Regions from separate parts of the Homo sapiens genome. Here region 2 is linked to region 1. Evidence: promoter capture Hi-C in 16 types of primary human blood cells and fetal thymus (Javierre and others, 2016). All regions are on one chromosome and are shown on one strand. Each heading gives the region's core, a stretch centred on a gene start or on the middle of the fragment in contact. The rest is flanking DNA. Distances are from core to core; before and after follow the strand shown. Region 1 holds the start of LIMD2 (LIM domain containing 2). Region 2 overlaps DDX42 (DEAD-box helicase 42).

Region 1 (3,167 bases), core at 565-3,064:
CGGGTTCAAGCGATTCTTCTGCCTCAGCCTCCCGAGTAGCTAGGATTACAGGCACACACCACCACGCCTGGATAATTTTTGTATTTTTAGTAGAGACGGGATTTCACCATGTTGGCCAGGCTGGTCTTGGACTTCTGACCTCGTGATCCACCTGTCTCTGCCTCCCAAAGTGCTGGGACTACAGGCGTGAGCCACCGCCGAGCCAAGTTCCCTTTTTTTGTTTGTTTTTGACGCTGGTCATCAGTTTCCTTTGCTTCTGGATGCCTTCTGCACCTTGCTGTTGGGGCATCCTCAATGCCCATCTGCAGCTCAGCCCACAGGCCCGTCCTGGGCAGGGTGCCGGGGCCTCACCATGCCCAATGGCAGCAAGCCCTGCTCCTAGTACCCCCGGGGCTTCCCGTTTCTTGCATCAAACAGCCCCTTTGGAGAATCTGATGACAGGTGTGGAAGCTTTCCCGAGAGGCAGCCACTTTAGAGGGTCTGACGCTCCCCACTAGAGAGTCGGCCCACAGTGCAGACAAAACGCAGATCTTCCTCTAGAGAGAACAGAAGGCTGGAGAGGAGACGCGGAGCCGGTCCGTGGAGTCCGCCAGCCTGGGAAACAGCTGGTCGCTGGGGAAGCTGCAGCCTCCCTGCTCCCCTGCCAGGCGTCGGGCGAGAGCTGTTCTGTTCCCTGACAAGCGCGTGGGCCGCCAGTGCTATTCCTGCCACAGTGTGGGAAGGCGCTGGGCTAAGGGCTGTGCTTCCCGGAGCTGCTTCTAGCCTGATTTCCGGCCAAGCCACGCAGTCCCTGGTGCCCGGGAAGGCGCCGGCCTCGCCGCCGCTCCAAAGCGAGTGGCCGTCTCTCGCCGGCTGTGCCTCCGGCCTGCTGTGCGGCTGCAGGGAGGGAGCAGCTCTGCGGCCCAAGCTCTGTCACCTCAGCTCTCTGGGCCGCGGCTCCCACGTGAGAAATGAGGTGCGCTTGTTGGAGAGGGGGCCCCCGTTGCTGCCCACAGAATTCCGCCCCAGAAACGCTTGAGTACGTGGAGCCTCGGGGGACGGGTGCTCCGGGAACCACGCATACCGGCCTCCCCAGCCCGTCGCAGGGTTGCAGAGGCGCCGAGGGCTGGGGGGGCTGCCGGGGCTGCCGGGCCCTCGTGCAGGCTCCTCCCCGCAGCCTCGCGGCCGGGCCTGGAGACCGCGTGCCCGGACGCCGCCGCCAGCCTCGTGGGCCGCAAAGGGGCGGGGGCGGCCCCTGGCGGCGGGAGGACTCGGCCGCCCGAGGGACCCCGGGCCAGGCTCCGGGGTCGCCCCGGCTGGGTCTCTGCGGCCCCACAGCTCTGGGCGGGGATGGGGGCGCCGGCGCCTACGCGCGAGGCCAACCGGGGGAAACCGAGGCAGTGAATGGCCCAGGCCCCGCCCGGTTATCCCGGAGCCAGGCCGGGAGCGCCCAGTGTCCCGCGACCGCAGCCGCCGCAGCCTGAACTCGTCCCCTCCCAGTAGGATGCGGAGCGCGGCCCTTCCATCCTGTCCCTGCCACCGTTGCTTCCCCACGCCGGGCCGCCGTCGGGATGGGCAGACGGCGCGGCCGGTACCCGAGGCCTGCGAGCGCGAGGCCCGCGGGGCGCTGCGGAGCCGGGAGCGCGGAGCCGGGGCGGGGGACAGACAAAGGCGGGGACGGCGGCGAGGGGAAGACAAAGCGCGGAGGGGGGTCGGCGGCGGCGCCGGGGCCCCGAAGGCGGCTCCGGGCGCGGCGGAGCCAATGGGCGGGCGCGGGGCGGGGGCCGGCGGGGGCGGTGCAGCGATAAGGCGGTGGCGGCGGCGGTGGCTCGGGGACCACTGGTAGCGGCAGCAGCTCGCGCCCGCGCCCTCCTCGTACCCGTGCGCCCCCGGAGACCGATCCCGCCCCGCGGCCCAGGCCGGGCCTGGTGAGAGCCGCGGGGGGAGGGGCCGCGTCCGGCTCCGGAACCGGGAGAGGCGCCGAGGGGTGTGGGGTGAGGGCCGCCCGTGGGGTCCCGGCGAGTCTGCGAGCCGCTCTCGCCCGGGGCGCACAGGCTCGAGTCCTCGTTTCAGGGCCGGCCCCCGGCTGGGCGGAGCCGAGACCCGCTGGCGGGGCTCGCGGCGTCGGGGTCTGGGGTCCGGTCCTCGCGGGGCCAGGTCGGGGGCCGAGGGGCGGGGCGGGCGGGGACCTCGGGCGCTGTCCAGGGGCTGCGCAGCCTAGGCCTGGACGCCCGGGCGCGGCGCAGGGCAGCGAGGGCCGGGGTCAGGTCGGGGCAGCGGCTTCTCATCGCGGCCCCGCCGGCCCCGACCTCCCCTCACCCCAAGCGGTCCCAGCCCGCGGGACGCACACGGCGGCTGCGCGGGAGCCCCCGGCCCCTCCGCTCCCGCTAACTTTGTTCTTCCGAGGGACGGTGCCACTCGGGACCCCGGCCCCTGGGGAGCAGGGGTGGGGGAGGTGGGTGAGGGGCGGAAGTGGCAAGACCAAGAGCAACAGGAAATGACTTAGGGAAAGTCCCAACCGCAATCCCCCCAGCCCCTGCCTGTCAACACCCCCCACCCTGCAGGCTGGGGCCGGGCTGGCGGGGCCCTCCCGACTGACTTCCCCTTGCAGAACCCAGCGGGTGCCGCTTCTCCACCCGAGGCTTCCACCTCCAACGAGCCATGTTCCAGGCTGCAGGAGCCGCCCAGGCCACCCCCTCTCATGTAAGTGCCCGGCTGGGTGGGAGGGCCCCCCGGACAGGAGCCTGGCCTGGGGTGAAGGGGAGAGGCATCAGAGTTTGCCGGCCCCCTTTGTGCCCTGCGGCGCGCCCCTGGGCCTTGGGCTGATGGCTGCAGCCCTGATCCAGGGCCTCCCGGAGCTGCCCCTGCCCTGACCGCCCCTCTCCCTCAGGACGCCAAAGGCGGCGGCAGCAGCACGGTGCAGCGCTCCAAGGTAGGGGCCTGGGGCCGGGTGTGCGGGAGGAGGGGTGTGAGGGAGCGGGATGAGCACTGGGGCAGCACCTGGCTGAGCTTCCCGCACAGTCCTTCAGCCTGCGGGCCCAGGTGAAGGAGACCTGCGCCGCCTGCCAGAAGACCGTGTACCCCATGGAGCGGCTGGTGGCCGACAAGCTCATTTTCCACAACTCTTGCTTCTGCTGCAAGCACTGTCACACCAAGCTCAGGTGCGCCCCTGCCCTGCCCGCCCCCGC
Region 2 (3,456 bases), core at 1-2,500, 110 kb before region 1:
CTGCCACATTGCAGCTGGGTTGTACCAGTTGTGTGAGCTGGCCTAGGCATTTGACAAACTCTTAACAGTTTCTGCTCTCAGAAAGTGTTCCGAACCCATTTGTAATTTGGGGACAGCATGGATTCAGATGACTCCAGGTTTGATTTGTTAGAATGCCTCACTTAGCTTTAGATTGGAGCACACCTGGAAGAGGGCAATCAGTGTGGTCAGAGGTCTGAGATCTCTGCAAGGAACAGTTAAGAGGCACCATACAGGCTGGGCACGGTGGCTCACGCCTGTAATCCTAGCACTTTGGGAGGTTGAGGCCGAGGCGGGCGGATCACCTGAGGTCAGGAGTTCGAGACCAGCCCGACCAACATGGCAAAACCCCATCTCTACTAAAATTACAAAAATTGGCCAGGCGTGGTGGTGGGCGCCTGTAATCACAACTGCTTGGGAGGCTAAGGCAGGAGAATTGCTTGAACCCAGGAGGCAGAGGTTGCAGTGAGCCGAGATCGTGCCATTGCACTGCAGCCTGGGCGATAGAGTGAGATTCTGTCTCAAAAAAAAAAGGTGGGGGGGCACTATACTATACACATATTGTTTTAAAGGCATCACACATTTTTAGCCTCCCAGAAGAAAAATTTTGTGGGGGAAGAGCAGTAAGGAGAATAGTAACCATCTTTGAGATTAAATTTACTCCTAAGTGTGCTATGGGGTAGAAATTACAGCGACAGATTTTAGCACAAAGGAATAGCTTTTCAAAACAGATGCTGTTGAAAGAAGAAGACCAGATAAGACTAGATGAATTTTAGTATCTCACAATTCCTATCTGTACCTCATAAGCCCCACATCCTCCTAGCCACCCAACTTTCTTGTCAAGTTTTTATGTTATCTGTTCCAGGACTGCTAAAATGTCTTGGTCTTATAACCAGGAGCAATTGAAAGTGTGCCCAGCCCCTCACCTGCATTGCCAGATCTAGGAGTTCCTTAGAAACGTGTTGATTGGCTCCTTCCAAGTTCCGGACCAGGTCACCAGCAAAATTGCTGTCCTTGGGAGTGAGTAGGGTATAGGCCACACCTTTCTCACCCGCTCTTCCTGTGCGGCCAATCCTATGCGTGTGGGTATCAATGTCTCGTGCCACATCATAGTTAATGACAGTCTTAATTGAAGGAATGTCCAGACCACGGGCTGAAATAAAAAGCAACCAAATTCTTTTATTCTTCATCTGTAGTCAGAAGATCAAAGTAACCAGAAATGCTAGTGCTAATAAGCCACATTTCCTTTATCTAGGCAAAGCGCATGGGTTTGGTGAGCTGAGATACAGGCATGTTAAGTCACCACCACAGATTCTATGATGTTAGGCCTTCTAGTGTAAGGGACTTTTATTTTTTAGAGACGGAGTCTTGCTCTGTTGCCAGACGGGAGTGCAGTGCCATGATCTCGGCTCACTGCAACCTCCGACTCCCTGGTTCAAGCAATTCTCCTGCCTCAGCTTTCCAAGTAGCTGGGATTATAGGCACGCGCCACCACACCCAGCTAATTTTTGTATTTTTAGTAGAGACGGGGTTTCACTATGTTGGCCAGGATGGTCTCGATCTCCTGACCTCAGGTGATCCGCCCGCCTCCACCTCCCAAAATGCTGGGATTACAGGTGTGAGCCACCGTGCCCGACTGGGACTTTTATCTTTTGCATCAGTAATCTGCCATGCCCTCTTCTCTTGCACTGGGAATATATATTTAAAATGTGTCATGAAGCTGAGAAGTTCTCTCCTTTCTAGGAAAAAATATCAGTGTTTAAGGGTAGTTATTAAAACTTGACAGAACAAATCCAGAAATTATATTCCAAAAACTGTTCTCATCCTGAGTTAAGTTGCCCAACTAAGCTGTGTATAGTAGATCAATGTAAGGGTAAGGTATCTACTATATTCAGACATACAATAAGGGCATTCACTGCCTTTTTTCCCAGAGTGACTTCTAGCTGCAGGGATTCTTTGATTAGAGAGAAATACTAAGTGAAAAGTGGTATCTAGAGCTCCAGACTGTGATCCCTGTGCTGAACTGCTGCTTCCTTGGGGGTTTGGGAGGGGATGGCCAGCCAGGCCAACAGTCTTTCCATCAGCCTGCTCAGATATTATAGGTCTTATGTAGTAAGACAGAGTACCCTTATAGCCTAGGAACTTAATGTTGTTGAAAAATTCATACTCTACCTGCAACATCTGTGGCCACCAGGACTGGGATGTCCTTTTTCTTAAAGTCTGAAATGACCTTGTTTCTCTCACTCTGATCCATATCCCCATGGAGCAGCCCAAGATTATGACCCTCCTGTTTAAGGTTATTCGCTAGCTCTTCAGCATTGGCTTTTTTAGTAACAAAGAGGAGGACACTCCCTGAAGAGGTAAATTCTACCAGACGCCGGGTAAGCCAGTTCCATTTACTAGGTCCAGAATGGAGAATCTCCACAATCTGTGTCACATCTTCATTTGCCTGAGAAGGAAGAAATGAAACAGATGATTGTGACATTGGAGCCACAGGGCACCTGAACAAGGACTAGGCATTATATTTCTACCTGCATCGAGAAGACCTTGAACAATCCCAGTTCTCCTTGGGCCTTCAGCAAGTCAAGTGCAGCTCAAAACTCACCTCTCCTTTCCAATCACCTTGCTCTCCACCTGGTGTACATACCTAATTTGTATGCCCCACTACTTTGTAGAGCTTTCCTTAACAATAACCATGGCAAGCAACTGAAGGATTCTCTAAGCAGCCATAACTGAATTCCAAGTCCCAATTCAGAGTAATTTTTCACATAGCGCATATGTACAGGTAAGAAATGAAACCTGATTTTTTCCAGGCCTTCCAGGTCACCCTTTCCCTCCTGCGTAGGCCCCTACCACAATAATTAAAACGTCAGTTCCAACCTAATACGCTGATGCTTCCAGGCACATCTTTTTGTCTCTTTGAAGCCTTTTTAAAACAATTGTAAGTTTTGAGACATTCAATAAAACAAAAAAAACACAAAATGAACAAAATCAACTCATACCCATCACCTAGCTTCAATGATTCCCAACATTTTGCCAGTCTTGTTACGTCTATCCCCACAACTTGCAAAATACCCAATCTCAAGCATGTTGCATCTATAAACATAACATCTTTTTTTTTTATCTCAATAGTGAGAAATTAATTCTGTGTTCCATAATATGAGAAATAAACCCATTAAGGTCCCATCCAGCCCTGCTTAGGGTTACCTCTCCAATATCTCCCTGCACCACTCGAATAGGGTCGATCAGGATGTCTCTGGCCAACTTTTCAATCTTCTTCCGAAAAGTTGCACTAAATAAGAGAGCTAAAAGGTAAGATAAATTCTGTTAGAGAAACAATATGATATCTTTATGCATACCCATTAAGCTTCTTTGGCATTCAGGATTATTCAGTTTTTTTACATAAGCTCACCTGAACTTTAAATTTAGTTTAGAAAC

Evidence for each region. The method cuts DNA at HindIII sites, captures the fragments that hold promoters and counts their contacts. A CHiCAGO score of 5 or more calls a contact.
Region 2: a fragment that was not itself captured here is called in contact with the fragment with the promoter of LIMD2 in region 1 in 7 of 17 cell types (naive CD8 T cells, naive CD4 T cells, total B cells and 4 more); the score reaches 7.7 in naive CD8 T cells.

The regions. Positions count from the first base shown.
Region 1 is chr17:63,698,772-63,701,938 of GRCh38, reverse strand. LIMD2 (LIM domain containing 2) reads left to right here and starts at 1,814. Exons shown (of 5, transcript NM_030576.4): 1 at 1,814-1,907; 2 at 2,591-2,682; 3 at 2,870-2,911; 4 at 3,001-3,140. The coding sequence starts at 2,641. LOC729683 (a long non-coding RNA gene) reads right to left here and starts at 1,601. Exons shown (of 1, transcript NR_046273.1): 1 at 1-1,601. RefSeq lists enhancers at 336-435, 231-815, 816-1,401 and silencers at 1,106-2,065, 2,156-2,615, 2,706-2,935. The HindIII fragment of the contact is 14,945 bases long and covers 453-3,167 here.
Region 2 is chr17:63,810,943-63,814,398 of GRCh38, reverse strand. It overlaps DDX42 (DEAD-box helicase 42), which reads right to left. Exons shown (of 18, transcript NM_203499.3): 13 at 3,226-3,323; 14 at 2,191-2,467; 15 at 945-1,171. Among named protein-coding and RNA genes, the nearest start is that of PSMC5, 15 kb to the left of the region's middle. The HindIII fragment of the contact is 4,274 bases long and covers 1-3,387 here.